7 separate regions of the Homo sapiens genome follow, and regions 1, 2, 4, 5, 6 and 7 are each linked to region 3. Evidence: promoter capture Hi-C in 16 types of primary human blood cells and fetal thymus (Javierre and others, 2016). All regions are on one chromosome and are shown on one strand. The core of a region is centred on a gene start or on the middle of the fragment in contact, and the rest is flanking DNA. Distances in the headings are between cores, read along the strand shown. Region 1 overlaps LOC124903134 (a long non-coding RNA gene). Region 2 has its middle 110 kb from the start of LINC00621. Region 3 holds the start of FGF9 (fibroblast growth factor 9). Region 4 overlaps SGCG (sarcoglycan gamma). Region 5 holds the start of SGCG (sarcoglycan gamma). Region 6 has its middle 77 kb from the start of LINC00362. Region 7 overlaps SACS (sacsin molecular chaperone).

Region 1 (3,090 bases), core at 545-3,044, 1.5 Mb after region 3:
TCACTGCCTTACAAAACATAATCATGCTATTAAAACTCACTGCTAATATTTTCAGGATGTGTCCTGTCATCCTCACCAGCCACTTTTTCAAACCATGCGTCTGACAATTATTGTGAAATCAAAGTCTGCTTTTTATGTAACTCAAACTTCTGCTTTTGAGATTTTAATATATACGCATAGGTTTCAGTCAGAGAGATGAGTCATGAATACTCAGATCCAAATATATATAGCTCAAAAATAAACTGGCTACAACTTGTAAGGAGATTTAAATCCCCCTTTGCCATGCATTAACTATCAGCAGCTATTTCTTGGACAGCCTTCAGGGCTGCACACTCATGCTTCCAAAGAAAACCGTCTGTTGCAGTCACTGTGATGCGTCTACCCATCCGTCTCAGCCTGCTGTTAACCATGTCACAGACCTGCCTCTGATTCTCCCACAACTTCTGACCCCAGGTAGTGGGGAGCTACTCCCCGATTTTGTGTTACTTAGTTACCCAGGCCCAGAAACAGTTCTCCTTGAGTCTAAAGGCTCATAAAGTCTCTATTGAATAGTTTCATCAGGTTTTGTCTTGAGGAACTTTTTGACACGGAAACAGAAAAGTTCCCTTGTCCTCCTCGCAGGGCGGATGATAGGGGTGTGGCTCGCTTCTTCAGTGCCCCGCTGCCCAAACCGCTAGGGGAGCATACAGATGGGCAGGCTGTGGAGCTCCCACCCTAAGTCAGTGTCTAGGGGTGAATGTTTACAACTCCTGAAGCCCCAGTGGGCATGCTACAGGGTGCTCTTTTAGTTTAGCCATCTGTAGGCAGCTTGTGTTGGTCAGCTCAAGTAGACCCCTGCCTTATCACAAGGACAGAGATATTTCTGTATCCCAGGTTCTTGCCTTGGTGTACCAGAATCGGATCACACGTGGGCTTGGAGAATGAGTGTAACGTTTTATTGAGTAGAAGTAGCTCTCAGCAGATAAGGGAGCCAGAAGGAAGATAGTTTTCCGCTGGAGTTGGGCCACTCTGCATCCTGGGCTCTCCTCGGCTGCCCCAGCCAAACTCCGCATGGTTCTGCTTCTGTCCATCAGTGTGACCTGCAGGCGTCATTCTGCTTCTGCCATCGGTGGTTGGTGGCCTGCTGGCATGCCAATACCTGTCTCTCCACATCCCGTGTATTCCTCTGCTGATGTGCTCCTCCTGCTGTTCAGCCGCCTATGTGTCTGCCTGCAGGGTCTCGGGATTTTTAGGCACAGGATGGGGGCGTGGCAGGCCAGGGTGGTCTCATCTGTCCTCACCTAGGTCCGTGGGGGTGGAGTCCTAGCTAGGGGTCACTCCTTCCTCTACCCAGCACTTCCTTTCTCCCTTCAGTATCATTTAAAGGGGCCATGCTCTTCCCTTCCCGGCACTTCCATATGGGCACTACATGTTTAAATGAGAAAAAAAAAATCAAGGGCAAACATTAATTTTTCTAATAAAACATTAAAGGAATTTTTTCGAAATTAATTACCTACATAACTTGCTTTAATATTAACTTTCCTTTGGAGGAGCCAATGAAAAGTGGCCCATACTAGCAAGTGTAATTTGAAAAAAAGAAAAGATGTTGGCATTTCTAAAAAAAAAAACTTACTAAATTCTAGGTATTGTGTTCTATATTTTGCATACCTTAATTCATTTATTTCTTAAAACATTCCTATCATTTACATCTTAATTTTTACCCTCATGTTTTAGACGGGGAAAAAGAAGCATAAAGAATTTACAGTCTGGGCGCGGTGACTCATGCCTGTAATCCCAGCACTTTGGGAGGCTGAGGCAGGTGGATCACCTGAGGTCGGGAATTGGAGACCAGCCTGATCAAACACGGAGAAACCCCGTCTATACTGAAAATACAAAATTAGCCGGGCGTGGTGGCGCATGCCTGTAATCCCAGCTACTCAGGAGGCTGAGGCAGAAGAGTCGCTTGAACAAGGGAGGCGGAGGTTGTGGTGAGCTGAGCCATTGCACTCCAGCGTGGGCAACAAGAACAAAAACTGTCTCAAAAAAAAAAAGAATTTATACAGCTTGCCATAGGTCGTAAGATCATACAATGACCAAATAGAAAGAGATCAGAACCCACAGTTTCTACACCCAGAGGGCCCCCTAACCTTATACTATGTGGTCTTTACATAATTGAAAGTTATTAATATTCAGAATCATTGACATTTAGAACTATAGTAATTTCAGGTGCAGTGAGCCCACATGTTGTACAGTTAAGAAACACAGGACCATTCAAACCTTTAGCCTTTCTTGTAACACATTCCTGAATACTAAAAAAGCTGAGAAGAAAAAAATAGAGAAAGGAAATTTTTAAACATCAATTTAAAAAAATTAGTGTTAGGGATTTTTTTTTTAACAAGCATTTCAGTCACTGATGAAAAGCCTTAGGCCCACAGAGGTAGCTGTTACCACAGAAAAGATTGTTAGATCTAAGAATAGAATTTGGATTAACCAGGACCTCTAGCATAAAGTTCAATGTTCTTTCATCACAGCATGATGTTCAACTGAAATTTAAAGTCACAAATTTAAAGTTATAGTTTAACACATCACCTGTACCAATTTACATACAAATGTAGGTACAAGAAGAGCCCTTGGCTTGCAGACAGTCTTATAAAATATAGTGTTGAAGGGGAAAAAAAAAGGAACCTTGAACATCATCAAAGGAATAAACAAATAAGAAAGGGGATGGATTTTACGGAAATGACCTGAGAGCTGACTCTTACTTCGTTTTAACTAAATAAGAAAGAATAAGAAAAAAATGTACAGGTAAAAGCAGAATTGATGGCTTCCTGATCCTCTCTTTTCTGACTTCTGCAACTCACTGGAGCATGAGAGAAAAACAAAAGCTAATATTTTTATGTATATGCATTTTTCACAGCTTTACTGAAATATAATTCACATACCACACAAAATTCACCCATTTAAGGTACAGAATGAAAAAGGCTTTACTATATTCACAGTTATGCAGCAGGCACCAAACTCTCAACTTAGAACATTTTTATTAGCCCCTAATTGTCTATTTTTCATATTATGTCTATTAATTATACTATCTGATCTTTTGTCGTTGACTCC
Region 2 (3,033 bases), core at 78-2,577, 1.4 Mb after region 3:
CTGGCTCCCCTTCACCCCATGCCATGAGTGGAAGCAGGCTGCAGCCCTCCCTGGAAGCAGATGCTGGCGCCATGCTTCTTGTGCAGCCTGCAGAACTGTGAGCCAAATAACCCTCTTTTCTTTATAAATTACCCAACCTCAGTTATTACTTTATGGCAACACGAATGGACTAAGACAGGCACTTAGCAGCTTCTGACAAAGACAGGATTCTAGTGCACGAGGAGAAACCAAGAGAAAATCAGTACTGAAAGGAGAAATCCAAATACATAAAAAGACACTTGCCCCAGGAGATGGCTTATTAACTGTGGTGAAGACCAGAAAAGATGAGCCACAGATTGGAGAAAGATATCTGCAAGGCAAGACCAATACAGGAATATTATACAGAATACATATATGTTTTATTAACCTCATACAAATGGGGGCAAGGAAAAGACAAACTAGCCAATGTTGTATCAGCCAATATACTTTCAAGGGATACAGTGGGCATCCACAGAACTTGAAAACTATACTGCCAACAAACAGATTTTAAAAATTGTTCAAACTCTCTTATAATCAAATCCAAAAGATATTATTTTATAGTCATCTGATTGAAAAAAACAAGTTTGATGTACCAAATGTAGATAAGAACGTGTGGGAACAGCAATTGTATTATTCTGGTGAGAATGTAAATTCATACCTCTACTTTGGAAAACAATTTAGTAATAGCCATGAAATTAAAGATGAGACTATCCAACAATCCAACAATTGCAGGTCTAGAGATGACCACACATTCATATGGAGAACATGCTGGGGTGTTCATTACAGAACTTGCTGTGAGGCAGGAAGAAAAGGGAGACTGTAATAATTGTCCCTCAGTTGGGAACTGGGCAAGGGCACAATAGCATTCATACAATGGAGACCAGTGAAGTTGCTGAAACGAAAAGTCCAGAGAACATGCTTTTTTTTTTTTTCTTTTTTTTCTTTTTTTTTTTTTTTTTGAGATGGAGTCTCTCTGTGTCACCCAGGCTGGAGTGCAGGGGCGCAATCTCGGCTCACTGCAACCTATGCCTCCTGGGTTCAAGAGATTCTCTACCTCAGCCCTCCCAAGTAGCTGAGATTACAGGCACGTGCCACCACGCCCAGCTAATTTTTGTATTTTTAGTAGAGATGGGGTTTCACCATGTTGGCCAGGATGGTATTGATCTCTTGACCTCATAATCCACCTGCCTTGGCCTCCCAAAGTGCCGGGATAACAGGCGTGAACCACCACACCCAGCCAGAACATGCATTTTTAAAAATGTGAAGAAAGTGTACTAAGACTAGTCACATACATTTAAAAAGCAATTTCTCTTTTGAGTACATACATAGACGACATTTTTTTTTATACATAGTAGTTTACTTCATGTCTAGAGTTGTGTGAGCTGGTGACAAACAACTCTGTGAGTAACTGCCTACTAAGGAATGGAAAGAAAGGGATCCAATGGGGCTGGTTGGGGTGGTTCATGCCTGTAATCCCAGCACTTTGGGAGGCCAAGGCAGGTGGATCACTTGAGGTCAGGAGTTTGAGACCAGCCTGGCCAACGTGGCGAAACCCCGTCTCTACTAAAAATACAAAAATTAGCTGGCTGTGGTGGTGTGTGCCTGTTAAGATCAGCTACTTGGGAGACTGAGGTAGAGAATCCCTTGAACTTGGGAGACAGAGGTTGCAGTGAGCTGAGATCGCGCCACTGCACTCCAGCCTGGGTGACAGAGTGAGACTCCATCTCAAAGAAAAAAAAAAAAGAAAAAAGGAAAAGAAAGGGATCTGATGGGAATGTGGAGTTAAACTGCATATGTAAATCTTTATTTTCTTAAATTGAAGCAAAATAATTAAAACATTTGTAAAAATATGATAAATGTTAAACCAGATTTGTCAAATCTGGTTGATGTGACATTTGTCTGATATATAATGTTATTTTCATTTGAAATATTACATATTATACAGTTACAAATTTAAATTATTTAATAAAGAAAAATTACTACAGTGCTTTATTTCCTCAATAAAAGCCTATGAGGCGGAACAGTTAATAATGGTTCAAATAACTTAAGGAGGCATTTTATTTAAGGAAGAACTTCTTAAAAGTGAGATTTCCAAAACAGTCATTATTTAGACGGGACCAATGCTATTTTACTAGGTTTATCAAAGATGAGGCTGTCTACAAACTTATGTATCATTCTAATAAATATTTTAATACAGAATGTTCTAAATTTTAATAGGAAAATAATATTTAAGTTCCTTCCATGTGCCATGCATAATCTTATATCAAGTATAATTTCATTTTTATATAATTTCTGTGCCTTACCTCTTGCTTCTCCCCAATTCACAAATGAAGAAAGTAGTTACACCGCCCTTCGTTCATGTACAAGGGGAGGGTTTGAATCCAGGTCTCTAGGAACCCAAAAGTCATGCACCTTCCAAGGCAAAGGAGATTACCATGTTACAGCATAGATAAAAACATAATAGAATTAGGAATTGGATAAGTATAGAGGGTTCAATAGTGTTCCCCCAAAATTCCTCTCAACACTGAAGCTCAGAATGTGACCTTATTTGGAGATAGGATCTCCAAAGGTAATGCAGATGTAATCAGTTAAGATGAGGTCATACCGGATTAATTTGGGTCCTAAATCTAATGACTGGTATCCTTTTAAGAAGAAGAGAAAACACAGGACACAGACACAAGGAAGCAGCAAACGTGAAGACAGAGGCTGGGGGTGTAGTGATGCAGCTATAAGGCATGGGGCCACCGGAGGCTGGGAAGGGATAAGGAGGGACCCTTCCCCAAAGCCTTCAGAGGGAGCAGCTGACACTTTGAATTTGGACTTCTAGCCTCGAGAACAGTGAGAACATATTTCTGTGGTTTGAAGCCATGCATTCTGTAGTACTCTGTTGTAGCAGCCCTAGGAAACTAATACAGGGATACAGCTGAGACCCCAAATGTATTGAGATCATATTTAATTTTCACAGACATTTTGCTTAGTTCCATCTTGCTTTCCTTCAGCTTAGAGATGAAAAAA
Region 3 (3,090 bases), core at 310-2,809:
GCTGGCACCTCCAGCGCCCCCGAAATCTGCAAATTCATCGCTCCCTTTCGTCTTCAGGCGAAGCCCTCCCGTCCGGAGTAGGGCCAGCCCCAGTTATGCATCTCCAGCCTTTAGCTGACTACTAAGGCGGATCCGACTTCTCCCCCATAACCAGGTTTTGATTCGCTTCCCCACCGCAGGGGTTCAGTCTCTGCTTTCGACTTTGCTTCTCAGTTGCACGCCCCGCAGTGTGGAGCTGCGCTCAAGTCTCGGCAACTTTCACCATCTTGACCCGAGAGTCGGGCCGTTTCTAAGACAATGTGAACAAAGAGGAGCAGGGGGAGGGAAGGGGGGCCCCGCGGGAGGGCTGTGGGCGAGTGTGTGTGTGTGTGTGTGTGTGTGTGTGTGTGTGTGTGTGTTGGGGGGCGCCGCGCTCCGCGCCCGCCGCCACTGGGGATCCGGGCGCAGGCAGGCTGTCCCGGGCGCAGAGCGCGCCGCCTCCAGTCTCTCTGGCGGGCCCGGCCCGGCAGGGCCCCTGGCGGCCCCCGGAGGCGGGTTTCTTTGTCCCTGACTCCCGCTGGGCGCGAAGGCCGCCGGCGGCTAACAGAAACCCGAGCCCGCGCAACGGAGCTCAGGCTTCCACGTGCGGCCCCGCAGGGCAGAGCAGGAAGGAGCGGCTGCAGCCCCGGGGCGCCCCGCAAGCATCCAGTGCCCGGCCCTCCCAGCTCCGCGGCGGGCTTCGGACGGTGGAGTGAGACACCAGAACTCGCCTTTCGCTTCCCCGAGCCGATGCACGGCTTGGGATGGCGCCGCTCGTCCTAAGCAGCGTGGTTTGAGGGCGAGAAGACGCCTACTGGAGCGCTCCCCTCCACCCAGACTCCCGAAGACGCGCGCCCGAGTCGAAGTCGGGGACAGAGAAGGTTCTCTGGCGCCCCCCTGCCGACTGCTTTGCGGCCGCCGGGACCCGAGCAGCGGGGCGGGACCTAAACATAGCCCCAACCCAAAGATGCCCAGCAGAACGCTCCAAACAAAACAGAAACGGTGGCCGCATCTGCGTGTGTGTGTGTGTGTGTGTGTGTGACGGGGGAGAGGAGTTGATCTTACCTGAAACATAGTTTGCGCTTCTGTGTGTGTGGCCGAAGAATGGAAGAGAAACTGCCATGGCCATCCGAGTCCATTAAATCAACTCCCCTTCCCTCCGACTCTCTCAACTCAGTCATATTCTATAATACAACGCAAGGTTACAGAGCCCCAGTGAAAACTAGTTTCCCAGTTTCACTCTGACCCTCCATCAATGTAGCCAGCCAGCTAGATTGTAGGTTACCGGCTTCTATTCTGCAGGAGAACTTTGAGTCTCGGGAGACTCAGGGTTTCTTCCTCCCGCCTCTCGCAGTGCATCTTTCATTTGCTTTTCTTTGTAAAGCCAGGGCTCCTCGACTGCCTCCCAGGAAGTCCTGCGCTCTGGCGCGCCGCACCTCGCCTGCCGCAGAGCGGCGCGGGCAGTAAGCCGGGCGCTAGGACCGCGGGGAGCCCGGGCTGCGGCGGCGCTACCTTAAACCCAGCCCAATGCCGCTGCCTGCGCCACTCTGCGCGCCGGCGGGGGCTGCGCAGGAGGAGCGCTCCGCCCGGCTACAACGCTCCGCGAGCCGGCGCGGCAACACCTGTTCGCGGCAGCCTGGGCGGCACGCGAGCTCCCGGACGCGGCTCTCCTCGCTCGCCGCTCGCCACCCGTTCTAAGCCAATGGACATCTGCCGAGCCTCTGGAGAATCCTGGATACTAGCTTTGGACGCCTAAAGTTTCTTCTTCTTTTTGTTTTATTATTATTATCATTTTTTGGAGGGGGGACCGGGAGGGGAGATTTGTCGCCGCCACCAACGTGAGATTTTTTTTTCCCCTTGAAGGATTCATGCTGATGTCTGCAGAGTCGGTTAGAGAGTAAAAACAGCGCATGCCTTCCTGGAGTCAGGATCCGTAAATTCTGACGTAGCCCGTGCATCTTAAAAATCCCTATAATAACGCCTAGGCATTTAAGTTGCTATGGTCATTCTGATCTCAAACCAAATGGAGAAACTACGGATTTTTTTTCCTTATTACGGTCGGATGGGATGAAGACCTTCCTGCCTGCTAAGAGCTGGGGATCTATCTATAGAGATACATAGATATGTTTATCAATATGTCAGTGTGTGAGTATAAAGTGGTGGTTTCTTAGACTATCAGTGGTTTGACCTTGAACCTGTGCCAGTGAAACAGCAGATTACTTTTATTTATGCATTTAATGGATTGAAGAAAAGAACCTTTTTTTTCTCTCTCTCTCTGCAACTGCAGTAAGGGAGGGGAGTTGGATATACCTCGCCTAATATCTCCTGGGTTGACACCATCATTATTGTTTATTCTTGTGCTCCAAAAGCCGAGTCCTCTGATGGCTCCCTTAGGTGAAGTTGGGAACTATTTCGGTGTGCAGGATGCGGTACCGTTTGGGAATGTGCCCGTGTTGCCGGTGGACAGCCCGGTTTTGTTAAGTGACCACCTGGGTCAGTCCGAAGCAGGGGGGCTCCCCAGGGGACCCGCAGTCACGGACTTGGATCATTTAAAGGGGATTCTCAGGCGGAGGCAGCTATACTGCAGGACTGGATTTCACTTAGAAATCTTCCCCAATGGTACTATCCAGGGAACCAGGAAAGACCACAGCCGATTTGGTAGGTATACCATTAACCCTTTAGTGTCCATGAGATGACATGTTGAAATTATAACTACCAAGAAGGTGGTGGCCGGGTGGGGGACGTGGGAAGGGTTCTCCCCTCCTCCCCTCTTTCTCTGTATCTCTGTCTCTCTCTCTCTCTGTCTTGCCAGCTCCGAAAAAAAAATGCCTCCGGAATTGCAGATCTGCTGCTGGCACTGATGCAAGTATACACTGAAAGGCCCCCTACTTTTAATTTAAAGGGGGGCATAATTTATAAATATAATACAAGTTTCCAGTTCTTTTGCATCAGATACACGGGTTTAGGAAGTTTCTTTTGAATGGACTGATTGCACGAGTTTAAAGCTTTAATCATTAACTACTAAGAACTTAATGCAGTTTCTTGAAGGCAGTGGGTATCTTGTGCCCAAAT
Region 4 (3,183 bases), core at 126-2,625, 1.6 Mb after region 3:
GCTAATTTTTGTATTTTTGTAGAGACGCGGTTTCATCATGTTGGCCAGGCTGGTTTCAAACTCCTGACCTCAAGTGATTCACTCACGTTGGCCTCCCAGAGTGCTGGGATTGCAGGTGTGAACTACCATGCCTGGACTGTTTTTCATGTAAATTTTAAAATCAATTTTTCAGGTTTTTTGAAAAACTCTCCTGGTTTTTTTTTATTGGAATTACACTGAATTCATGCCTTTATAATCGTGAAGTCTCTTGTCCATAAATATGGTATATCTCTCTATTCACACAGCCTTTTATATGTCCTTTAATATTTTATGATATTCTCCATTTAGGTTTGGCCCATAATTATTAGAATTCATTACCAGGGTGTTTATAGTTTTTGTTTCTATTGAGAATGGGTTCTTTTTTCTGTTAAATTTTCAAAGTGATTATTATTGATTTTTTCATGATAGTTTTTAAGCCAGCAACTTTACTGATCATTGTTATTAGTTTACATATATATGTATATAAAAATACATACATATGCCGAGAGAGAGAGAGAGAGAAAGAGGAAGATGGGGTCTTGTTATATTGTCCAGGCTGGCCTTGAACTCCTGGGCTCAAATGATCCTTCTGCCTCAAATGATCCTTCTGCCTCAGCCTCCCAAGTAGCTGGAACTACAGATGCACACCACCATACCCAGCTTAGTTTTAATATTTTGATTGTAGAACTCAACTGATTTTTCCATTAAGATGATGATAGTGCCGAAAAAAGAGTCATCCTTTTTATTATTATACTTCTTACTTCTCAGATCCCTGTATTGTTACTTTGGCTGGGACAAATGTTGGCTAGAAAGAGTAACGATGGACATCTGTGTTTACTTCCTGACTTTGAGAAATGCTTCTAAATTTTTTAAATGAAATTATGTCTGCTATAGGTTTTTGGTAAATATTAATACCTATTATCAAATTAAGAAAGTTCCATTTTGGTCTAAGTACCCACCTCTCCTTTTTCTTTCAAACAGTGTGTGTAAGAGCAATCAAAGGTTTGGTGTAAACTCACATATGAAATGAAAGAGCCAGTACATTTTGGGGAAGTTGGATTATTTACACTTCCACTTCAATGTATTTAATGAAGTTTCTCTTTTCAAGTTTTGTACATCTTCAGGTCCATTTTGGTTGTTTCCTTGCTAGAAATTTTTCCTTGTTACTCATTATGAGCATATAATTATTCATAATTATTCATAAATGTTTATGCTAAAAGCATGTTATCTTTTGCTTTAATGCAAGGTTTGTATGTAAGCGGCTACTAGGTCAATCTTGCAAATTACATTGTTAACATCTTCTATATACTTAGTATTTTTGCCTTGTTTTTCTCTTTTTTTTTTTTTTTTTTTTTTTTTTTAGACGGAGTCTTGCTCTGTTGCCCAGGCTGGAGTGCAGTGACACGATCTCGGCTCACTGCAAGCTCCGCCTCCTGGGTTCACGCCATTCTCCTGCCTCAGCCTCCCAAGTAGCTGGGACTACAGGCGCCCGCCACCACACCCGGGTAATTTTTTGTATTTTTAGTAGAGACGGGGTTTCACCCTATTAGCCAGGGTGGTCTCGATCTCCTGACCTCATGATCTGCCCGCCTCGGCCTCCCAAAGTGCTGGGATTACAGGCGTGAGCCACCGCGCCGGGCCTGAATTCTTCCTTTTAATCATAAGTAATGTTACCCTTTTGCCCTTATTTTGTCTGGTATTACAATTGCTATACCTGGTCCTACTTTCTTTTGCACTGATTTACATTTTCCAAGTGTTTTATTTTCAATATGTTTGCAGCATTATGTTTCAGTTGTTTCTCTATGTTTCAAATTTTTTGGTTTGAGATTTTCTTTTAATGGGTTAATTTAGCCCATTTATATTTATTATGGTAACTGGTTTATTTGCCACATTTCTATCATTTTGTTTTATTTACCATGCTTTTTCTTTTCATTTTTTCTCCTTTTTCTTTTTTTGTTGGATTAATAAACTTTTCCTCCTCTCCACCCATATTTCCCCCAATAGTTCTATTTTTATTCTTTCAATGATTGTCTTTTGTTTATATGCACAGACACAAATTAATACTTGTCAACCAAGTCTACATCAATACCACCTTCTTCCCAAATAATATTTTTAAAAACTTAGTCACTTCCATCCAAACTTCCCTTTCATTGTGGTTTTATTTCAGCATTGCTTTTATTCATCTCCCTGCTTTATTTTTTCAGGCCATATCTATTTAGCTTTACCAGCACATTTTGTAATGTCCACTGCTTCTTCTTGGAAACATTCTTTTCTTCTTATTTAATTTCCATAAGTACATTTTTTGGTGAAGATCTATAGATTGTACATTTGTTCCCTGTGTCTGAAATGTCCAGTTTCCTTTATAGTCAAGTGCTGGTTAGGCTGAGCCAGATTTCTATCTAGGCTGACAATAATTTTACACGAGTATTTTAAAATATATTACTCATTAGTGCACTTTTGATTCTTTAGAGATCATGTGATTTTCATTCTGAATTCTTTTAAGATTTTATTGTTAATGTTGGCCATCTGCAGTTTCACCACGGTGTCTGGTATGTGTTAGTTTATACTTGAGTATCAGTGAACTTCTTCAGTTCTTCAGTTTCAGAAACTCATGTTCTTTTTCAATTTTGGAAAATTATTAGCCATAGTTCTTCATATGTATGTCTTCCTCATTCTCTAGAGGGTAGAGGTTTTTCACTTGTAGTCTGTGGACCCCATCAAGAGACCTTTTCACTGGGGTGGTAGCGAGCTCCCTCCTTCCCCTTGATAAAGTCACTTTTCTTCAGCCTTCACCTATAAGGTGTCTGACTACTCCTACAGGACAACTGGCTTGGTGCTCGGCACGTTGGCCTGGGGTAGAGATGAGGGCAAAGTGAGGCTGACATGTGCTACTTATACTGAGGTGTTCGATGAGGAATCAGCCTCTGATCCCAAACACCTCATGTGCGTATTCAGGATAAAATTACTAAAGATGAGTACAAAAACCCAACAGTTCCTAAATGATGCAAGGTCACTTTCAACATATTTTCAGTTATCTTTCTATCTAATTTCTCAAATTAGAAAATAGATTTTTTTCATTGAAATTATTGTTCTTTCTCCTCTGACCTCCAAACCCCCCACCGTGACCCTTTCTGGACAGATCACTTAGGTCAGCTGACAACTCCT
Region 5 (2,829 bases), core at 191-2,690, 1.5 Mb after region 3:
CACTGCTTCTTATATTCAAGGTTTAGTACTAAAATGCAAATATGAAGTATATAATTTAGTAAGTTTTAATCCTGCTGCAAACCAGGTCACATAAAAATAATGCAAAATAAAATATTAAAATTATTCAGAAGTTCGATATTTATTCTGTTGTCTTTACACCTTATAAAATGGAATGACCTAATTACTCTTAAATAAACATAAAGACAATTTAAGGTCACATTTGTTACATTCACATAATTTGTTAAACACAATAGAAATGTTAGTTTACTAGAAAAGAACTGTCATAATTTTAACATGCAGAGTTTGTTTACCTTCTATTATGGTGATCTTTGTTTAAGATTTTCTCCTCAGATGTTAAAAGTTTTTCACTTAAAGAGGCTTAGGGAAAGTGATTTTTAAAGAGTCACTGTTACATGGTAATATGCCGTTCATTTGGATGAGACTAGTATATAGGTAATAGTCACAAGTTCTAACTTGCATGTTAATTTGAAGAGATTTTTCGTAAAATTTTATCAACATTAGTTTCTAATGGAAACCAGTCTTAGAAGTTTTCTGCTGTTTGTTTGAGGTAAAGTTTTTTTAAGAAAGTTATAATTACATTAAACTATCATGCTTTAGGGTTTAAATGTTGGAAAGTTGGTTTTGTAAGAAGAAGAGTTTGGTTTCTTGTTTGTTTGTTTGTTTTGGTTTGTTTTTGGCATGCGAAGAGCTGTGTCCTGGAATTGGTGCCCAAAAAATTTTAAGTGTGGTATGAACTGTTTATGTCACTGAGTAAAATTAGACACGTCTGTTGCTAATGTGAGGGGATGAAACATGAGACAGGGCGAAACTCGTGAGAGCCCTTTCTCCAGGGACAGTTGCTGAAGCTTCATCCTTTGCTCTCATTCTGTAAGTCATAGAAAAGTTTGAAACATTCTGTCTGTGGTAGAGCTCGGGCCAGCTGTAGTTCATTCGCCAGTGTGCTTTTCTTAATATCTAAGGTAAGTGCTCAGTTTTAACTTAGATTTTATATCAGTACAAAGTACTACCTAAAAACCAAACGCTTAAGAGGTTTCTTAATATTCTTTCTTCTTTGGTGGCATAATAATAAATTTAAAATAATGTTGAATAAATTGGTGTATCACAACATAATGACATATCAAGTATCAATGAAATTCTCATTTCAACTAAGTTATTCTGACTACAAATATGCTACATATTTTTAGCATAATCCTATATTTCTAACATTTTTAATTTGTAGAATGCCAAAGGTAGCATTTCTGTATTATTGGGCATTGAATTGGATCCTGTAGTTAATTTAAACAAAGTATTATCTTTAAGATCACCTACTTCTAATTCTGCTCTTAAACTTTAGTGGTAGAATTACATTTGCTTTAGATTTTCTTGATAGTTTTGTTATAGACACTAAGAAATAAACTAAAATGAATGACAACAAAAGTCCAGTGGTTTTATAAGTTGGAAATAAACAAAACAAGAGCAAAATAGCAACCTGACTCCTTCACTATTTTTGGAGTGAAAAGGGAAGAATGTTTCTTTCCCTAAATCTGGAAAATATAAAATACTGCTCAAAATATGTATGAAAAAATAAACATAAGTGGGGTAAAAGTACACATGTGCTAATGCTTCAGCTTACTGAAGTTATGAGTTCTTTCTTTGCGTTTTCTAAATTAATACATGACAACTAGCAAACACAATTTTTTTAAAGGAAGGATTAGAAAAAAATAATACGGAAAAATATAACTCAGCTGACTGAAAGATTTGCCAGCAGACCAGTACAAAAACGAACTACGGAATACACCGTTTGTTTTTTGCTTATTTTCTTGCAAACATTTTGTAGGTACAAAAAGGCACCTTTGTGGAATTTAAAAAGTAATGCTACAAGTTGGGGTTCGTTTTATAGGTTCTAGGATTCATTTCAGATTGTCTTTCAAAGACAAATGAAAAGTAGCATTTCAATGTAGTTAGATATAGCATTCCAAAGACTAACAAATTCAGGTGTCCAAAAGATATCAGCTAAGCTTGCAGTTAAAATGCGGAAAATGAAATTGTTCCATATTGTCCTTTAAAAAATGTACTTGCTAGTCATTAAACTAAGTTGTTATTAAATTGCATTAAAAATTAAATGATAGTTGTAAATTATAGTGGGTTCCCAATGTGTTCAGTTTTGCATAACTTATAGGGCCTGAGGATCTCCCTCCACTCCCTAATCTGTGGCTCATCACAGCGCTTGTGTCTTCTCAGCTTGAGGCACCAGGGCTGTGGTTTCCCAGTGGGAGGGGAGAAACTACAGCGTCCTGAGGATGACTCTGCTACTCTCCTGCTCCTTCAGAACCCACCTTGACCTTCATGACACCTTCCTGTCTCTCCCTCCCTCCCTCCCCTTCTCTCAGCCTCTATAGCACCTGTCTGGCTTTATTCTTCTCCAGACCTACTGCAGGGCCAGATAGTTCTACGACGTTCTCATGAGGATTGCAGGATCCATCACTTGCTACTTTGGCCATTTTGGATTCCAGCTTCATTTTTAATTTTATATGTTATGCTGTAGATAGTTTTATGGGAACACTGGTACAGGAGTATTTAGTAATTTGTGAATGGTAAAGGTCTCAAGACTTTTCTCAGAACCTGTGAAAATCTCACTGCCTGCTCGACTTCAGTATGACTGGTGGGTAGGACCACTGAGGAATGGGGACAGGAGGGCTTGCTGTGCCCAAAGGCGTTTGTGCTTCATCCTAAGCACCAGTGAGACCTTTGAACCTCTAGAAAAGGAGAGCAGCCCAGTCACATGGGTGCTTTGGAAGGATCACTGCAGTTGACATGGAGAATGGATTA
Region 6 (3,176 bases), core at 98-2,597, 1.4 Mb after region 3:
AGAACCTCAAACGCTAAATGCGCATGCCCATCAAGAGATCTTGGCGTATAGAACATGAATATCACCACCAGAGAAACTGACTATTCCTTGAGTGGCCGAAAACCTTAGGAAGTGAAAATTAGAGACTGTTACAATGTTCATAATCTCAAAAGGACAAATAGGATACAAACCAAATCATGCGTACAGAGAATATTCCAAGGTCAGATTCTACCCAAGAGGGAGTTTGAACGATGAGCTCATGATCTCAGTGCTGGGGCCACTCTCAGACAAGCCCGAGCCCCATTTGTGGAAACAATAGGATGGTCTGGACTCAAATGAACTGTTAACAAAATAAGGGAGGAAATTTTGTTGCTGCTGGTATGGAAAGGTGGAAATGTCTTCCACGGGCATCCCAGCATTCCTGATGTTACTGAGGCAGCCTCTGAAGCAGTGGCTCTTTGGAATAAGTCAGCAACCCCAATCATTAATTAAAGTTGTATCCCAGTTAATTACTGCATGAATTTTGACAACAAAAATAAAGCATAAATACAAAACTCTTGGAACAAAATAAAGGAAGTTCAGGACCTTGAGGAAGAACATAGGGAAATTTCAGTCAGGACCAAGGGTTGTTAGTGAGGATTTTATTATGAGGAAGTGGTAGCAGCCTTCAGTTCTCTGGAGAGCAAAGGCTCAAGAGAAAGGAGTGCCCTTATGAGTTTTTCATCATACACTTTTTCTTCCCAGACCCAAATCTTAAATAACCTCACGCCTAAACTCTACAGCAATCCCCCTGTTAGGATAATCTGGGCATCAGTAACTCCTCCCACTCTTACCTTTAAACTAGTCTGTACTTAACTTTTTTGCATATCAGCAAGATCTTTTTATTTACTCTTGACACAAAACGGATTCATTGAGCCCTCAGAGCTTAATTCTCTCCCTATCCTTTTTTTTTTTTTTTTTTTTTTTTTTTTTTTGAGACGGAGTCTCTCTCTGTCGCCCAGGCTGGGGTGCAGTGGTGCGATCTCGGCTCACTGCAAGCTCCGCCTCCCGGGTTCACGCCATTCTCCTGCCTCAGCCTCCTGAATAGCTGGGACTACAGGCTCCCGCCACTATGCCTGGCTAATTTTTTGTAATTTTTAGTAGAGACGGGTTTCACCATGCTAGCCAGGATGGTCTCGATCTCCTGACCTCATGATCCGCCCGCCTCGGCCTCCCAAAGTGCTGGGATTACAGGCGTGAGCCACCGCACCCGGCCAATTCTCTCCCTATCCTTTGTCTTCTGAGGATGCTGATACAGTAAGTATCAACCATATCCAGTCTTTCACCCATGAAGATTGTCTTCGAGTATTATTCCATAATTTGTAATTTCTATTACATGTCTCTTTCCCAATTGGGTCATGACATTTTTTGAAAATAATGTATTATCTACTGCAGGTTAGGATATATTTAAAGTCCCTTTCTAAGCATGAATTCCCTATTTTATCTGCCTTTTTAAAATCCTCAATCCAGAACCCACTGTTCCAAGAACCTATGCGCTGAAAGAGATTCTTTCTTCTGTCTCTAAGACAATCAACATGTTGGATGCAGTCAGTCTGATCAGAAAACTACAATCATGTTAAACTCTGACATCTTCTTCTCCTAAAGGCCATGTTTTTATATCTGGAGACAGAGGAGGGTATACACCCCGCATCTCCTTTGGGAAAAGGAACTATACTTTTCTCCAGGAGATATGAACACCCTTATTTCACCTATTTAAAAGCAAGGAAACGGCCGGGCGCTGTGGCTCACGCCTTTAATCCCAGCACTTTGGGAGGTCGAGGCGGGCGGATCATGAGGTCAGGAGATGAGACCATGCTGGCTAACACGGTGAAATCCTGTCTCTACTAAAAAATACAAGAAATTAGCCAGGCATAGTGGCTGGCCCCTGTAGTCCCAGCTACTCGGGAGGCTGAGGCAGGAGAATGGCGCGAACCCAGGAGGCGGAGTTTGCAGTGAGCCGAGATAGCGCCACTGCACTCCAGCCTGGGCGACAGAGCGAGACTCCGTCTCAAAATAAATAAATAAATAAATAAAATAAAAGCAAGGAAACTTTACGATTTGGGTCAAGATCTCCAAGCCATAAATGCACTAGGATTGCCTTCTGTTCTGATTGCCCCGTTATCAGCTTTTGCTTTTCCGTGCATCCGACCCTGCCAGCCACTCCTATTTGTGCTTCTGTATTAGGGTCTCTGGAATATTTGGCCCTGACACTTAGAGTCTTTTGTGATTCTCTCCATAGAAATTCTTAGAAGGGACATACTGTATGCCTAGTTACTCCATATTTGTTCACTGTGTCAATGTGATAACATAGGCTGTCTACAAACAAGGTGACTTTCCCTCCAGCCAATGAGAAGTAGGAACAAAACATAAAGCAAATATAGGTTTACCTTGAGATGGTCACATAGAACATGTTTCTGCTGTAAGTTGACCTTCTGTACTTCTTCCCAGAAGAATTAGAGGACAGTTTTTCTGTCTCCTGAAGATGCTAACTTAGGATGATGTTTGGAGGGAGCAAACTTAGTTTTTAATGTTTGTCTTCTCAAAAACTCATGCTGAAATTTAATTGCCATTGTAACAGTATTAAGAGGTGGGACCTCTAAGAGGTGATTGGGCTGTAAACCCACCCATGAGGGTGAGTTTAATGCCTTTAAGAAAGGGCTTTCAGAAGTAGGTCATATCACTCTGCTCTTCTTCTCTCCTGCCATAGGAGGAATGCTGTTCCTTTCATCAGAGGATGCAGCATTCAAGGTACCATCTTGGGAGCAGAAACCAGGCCCTTACCAGACACCAAGCCTGCCAGCACATTGATCTTGGATTTTCCAGCCCCCAGAACTATAAGAAATAAATTTCTTTTCTTCAAAATTATCCAGTCTTTGTTATTCTGTTACAGCAGCACAAAAGAGACTACGACAAAGTTGAATTCTGCCAGAAGATACGTTTCCTAACACATCATGGAAACACAGATAAAATCTCTGCCATCTTGGAGCTTCTAGGGAAGTTTCTAGTGAACCACAAACTAAAAACAGGTAAATATAGAATCTTAGATAGTAATAAGTGATAAATAAGAAACAACAAGCAGGAAGAAGGGTAAGAAAAGTTGGGTGGGAGAGGTATTGAAATTTGGCAGTGTTGCTGGGCAAGCTGCACTGAGGAGGTGA
Region 7 (3,039 bases), core at 443-2,942, 1.7 Mb after region 3:
CTGTCCCTGAGGCAATGGAAATATCAATTCAGCTCTACCTAGAGGAAAAAAATATTTAATGTATCTGTTTCCAAACACATATATACCACATATATCAGCTAATCTGATTCCCTAAAAAGGTGACATAAACTCAACTAAATCAATGAGCACCTAAACCTAGTATATAACAAGCACTTCATATTCTATTAATCCTAAAAATCTATAATTCCAGCATGAAAATATACAGGAAAATATTTTCCTAATATTTCCAATAAATACACACATACACACACATTAAAACTTAATATTAAGATGTTAAGTTTGATTTCCAATGAACTATTTCTCAGGAAACACCCATTACGATGATTTCATATGTACATTTTCCTTTATTAAAAGTATGGCACTTTATATAACAGCAGAAATAATTACATGATTTCACATCCAGAAGCAATAAAATGTGGAGGTGCAAACATTCCTTATTCCCAATAAAAGTAAAAAAAGTTTCAACATGTTCTGTAAGCCCTTAATTGCATAAAGTATATTTAGCATCATTTACAGCCAGTACACTTATATAAACTAATTATCATTACCTTTTACATTCTGCAAAAGAAATATGTTAAAGTAAAGAAGCATGGCGAGACAAACATGAATTAAATGTCAGTTCTGATCATTCATGGGGAAATATAAGCCGATAATTATAAACTACTAGATAACACAATGATTTTAACAATTTTTGATGTTTTTAAAGTTAAAAAAACTCCACTACATGCCATATTGAAAGAAAAGGTTGTTTTTTTTTTAACTGCAGCACCTTTAGACAACAAAAGATTGCATCCTGTTCAACCACACTATATAAATTATAACATTTGTGGAAAATATGTACACACAAACATAAAGCAAGTGTTCTAACAGTTAATAAATGTTGTCTTGGCAAGCAGTTTCCAGAAACAATACTAACAACTGGTAATAAGAACTGCCACCATTTTGAGTTTTCCGTTGCTATCTTCATCAAACAGGAAGCCTGTAAACATAAGATGTTAAAAAAAAATTTAAATAAAGATGTAAAGTGCACTCAGTGCACTCTAAAAAGTACTACCTTCACACTCTTAGTCAAGTAATAGGATTAAAATACTCTACCATTTCTTAAATGCACTGAGTACAACATAAAATTACAACAAATTCATGATCAGAGCCAGCTGATGAGAAAATAACGCATCCAAGAGGATCCACTTAAAAAAATGACAGACTACAAAGACTTAATTCCCCTTATGTTTAAACCAATTATATGTCCAGTGTTTCATTAGCTCCTTCAAAAATACCATGTTAAAAACATAAAATTAACTTCATCCTAACCAGAGACATACATAGACTCTTATCTAACAAACTGCTAAGCTTTGGTTATATAAAGTGCAGTTCAATGATGTATCATCCCAATCATTCAAATCCATCCAGCTATTTTGCAGCTCACCACCATCTTCAAAATAGTTTTCTTTTAGATTCAGTTAAGGTTTTCCGTTGGTATTCATGTTCATAACAACTCCAGAATTCTCCAAGAACAATCTGCAATGTGCTTAACAATTCCTAGCTAATTGGCAATGAAGCTTAATGAAGTACAGCAATTTATTCGTGCTACAACACATTCAAGATCTACCTTTTTTTTCGTTAAATATCTTCACACTTTTTGTTGCATAAAATTTTCAAGTTTTATTATGATACAGGCAGTACATTCCATCACCCTCATAGCAACCTCAGAAGTGAACCTGTCATTTGGGATCTGAGGAAAGGGAAGCAAATCAGGGTATCTTGTTTTTAAACTGTCTACACCATAAGCTTCCAATGTGTGAACATCATTTGTCAGTCCTTCAAGTTGCTGACTATATTCCTCTATTTTCTGAGCAAGTGCAGTTGGTTTTACATCTTTATCAGACTTTCCCCTCACAGCATAGTCAGCTGCAATCAAAGCTAACTTGGTAGAAAGGTAACATTTAAAGCACACCCACTCATTGGCATTTTTATGAAGGTCATTCCTGGCAGCTGAGAAGTTTGCTCTGGCTTGTCTTAGCCATCTGCGTGCTTCCACTGGATTGCCAACCGACTTGAAAGTGGGAGGAACAAAGAACCTTTGAGAGTAAGTCTGTCCGGCTGAAGGGGGGCATTTTTCTTTGTTCTGTTGCTGTCTTTCAGATTTATGGCTCGTTGCTTCTTGATTCCATGAAGTATAGAATCTCTGAAATGAGTATTTGTCTGACTGAAATCGGGATGCTGAGGTTGAAAATGTTCGTCTGGAGGCCCTGTCTGCATTTTGATCTAGAAAAGCCTGTTTTTCTAATCTGTTGATTTCATTCTGCAAATGTTTAAAAACTTCATTGGCAATGTCATGGTTCTCTGGATTTTTGTCAGGATGCCATTTCAAATACAACCGCCTAATAATCTTTTTTCGTTCCGATTCTGGAAGCTTCCATGCTTGCTCCACCACAGATGTCACTTCTTTTAAGATTTCTGGTAAAGAATTAACCTTAAGCTTTTTGGGGGACTGATGTTTGGAAGAAGTCTTGTGGCTCTCTCTACCAGAGAAAAGAGGAGGAATGCTTCTCAGGCCAGGGGTGAGGAACTCAGTGGGGCTGGTTGGTGTAGAAGGAGCACTGTCCCTGCTTTGAGAGCTTTCCTCAGGTCTTGAAAACTTATACAGATCAAGAGAGCTAACTATTTTATATTCACTATAACCAATATCTATCTGATATATCTTTCCTAGAAAACTAGAATTGTCAGCATCTTCTCTTTCAACTTCTTGTACAATAATTGCATATGTGTATGTTGGCTGGTATGATCCATAGATATCACCACCTTCAGCATCAACAAGGTACCCAACATATTCTCCCGGGTAAAAAACATTCATTGGGTCCATAAGCAGAGTGTAATGAATTTCAGCAGGAATTGGTGTGCCAGGCATTGGAAGTTCCAGTTTTGATGGCTCCGAAGAGTCATATTTCACTCCTAAACTGTCAAGTTTCTCACCAATCCTGTAAATATCATTGCATCCTAGCATAGCAATTAAATATG

The links. Contacts are between HindIII fragments. The CHiCAGO score rates a contact against its expected background, and 5 or more counts as called.
Region 1: a fragment that was not itself captured here is called in contact with the fragment with the promoter of FGF9 in region 3 in 3 of 17 cell types (M0 macrophages, M2 macrophages and endothelial precursors); the score reaches 7.5 in M0 macrophages.
Region 2: a fragment that was not itself captured here is called in contact with the fragment with the promoter of FGF9 in region 3 in 1 of 17 cell types (endothelial precursors); the score reaches 5.3 in endothelial precursors.
Region 4: a fragment that was not itself captured here is called in contact with the fragment with the promoter of FGF9 in region 3 in 1 of 17 cell types (M2 macrophages); the score reaches 5.0 in M2 macrophages.
Region 5: a fragment that was not itself captured here is called in contact with the fragment with the promoter of FGF9 in region 3 in 1 of 17 cell types (endothelial precursors); the score reaches 5.0 in endothelial precursors.
Region 6: a fragment that was not itself captured here is called in contact with the fragment with the promoter of FGF9 in region 3 in 1 of 17 cell types (M0 macrophages); the score reaches 5.1 in M0 macrophages.
Region 7: a contact is called between a fragment that was not itself captured here and the fragment with the promoter of FGF9 in region 3, in 1 of 17 cell types (endothelial precursors). The highest score is 6.1, in endothelial precursors.

The regions. Positions count from the first base shown.
Region 1 is chr13:23,146,813-23,149,902 of GRCh38, forward strand. It overlaps LOC124903134 (a long non-coding RNA gene), which reads right to left. Exons shown (of 2, transcript XR_007063719.1): 2 at 914-1,404. Among named protein-coding and RNA genes, the nearest start is that of LINC00362, 23 kb to the right of the region's middle. RefSeq lists an enhancer at 807-976. The HindIII fragment of the contact is 3,996 bases long and covers 1-3,090 here.
Region 2 is chr13:23,029,126-23,032,158 of GRCh38, forward strand. No RefSeq gene overlaps it. Among named protein-coding and RNA genes, the nearest start is that of LINC00621, 110 kb to the left of the region's middle. The HindIII fragment of the contact is 4,691 bases long and covers 1-3,033 here.
Region 3 is chr13:21,669,514-21,672,603 of GRCh38, forward strand. FGF9 (fibroblast growth factor 9) reads left to right here and starts at 1,560. Exons shown (of 3, transcript NM_002010.3): 1 at 1,560-2,676. The coding sequence starts at 2,400. RefSeq lists silencers at 378-637, 1,418-1,467, 1,488-1,547. The HindIII fragment of the contact is 3,792 bases long and covers 1-3,021 here.
Region 4 is chr13:23,308,727-23,311,909 of GRCh38, forward strand. All of the region lies in intron 6 of SGCG (sarcoglycan gamma), which reads left to right. LOC107984585 (a long non-coding RNA gene) reads right to left here. Exons shown (of 2, transcript XR_001749787.2): 2 at 2,159-3,183. Among named protein-coding and RNA genes, the nearest start is that of SACS-AS1, 110 kb to the right of the region's middle. The HindIII fragment of the contact is 6,032 bases long and covers 1-3,183 here.
Region 5 is chr13:23,180,096-23,182,924 of GRCh38, forward strand. SGCG (sarcoglycan gamma) reads left to right here and starts at 884. Exons shown (of 8, transcript NM_000231.3): 1 at 884-980. The HindIII fragment of the contact is 1,152 bases long and covers 865-2,016 here.
Region 6 is chr13:23,092,560-23,095,735 of GRCh38, forward strand. No RefSeq gene overlaps it. Among named protein-coding and RNA genes, the nearest start is that of LINC00362, 77 kb to the right of the region's middle. The HindIII fragment of the contact is 7,712 bases long and covers 1-3,176 here.
Region 7 is chr13:23,328,485-23,331,523 of GRCh38, forward strand. It overlaps SACS (sacsin molecular chaperone), which reads right to left. Exons shown (of 10, transcript NM_014363.6): 10 at 346-3,039. The coding sequence ends at 1,652. Among named protein-coding and RNA genes, the nearest start is that of SACS-AS1, 89 kb to the right of the region's middle. The HindIII fragment of the contact is 229 bases long and covers 1,579-1,807 here.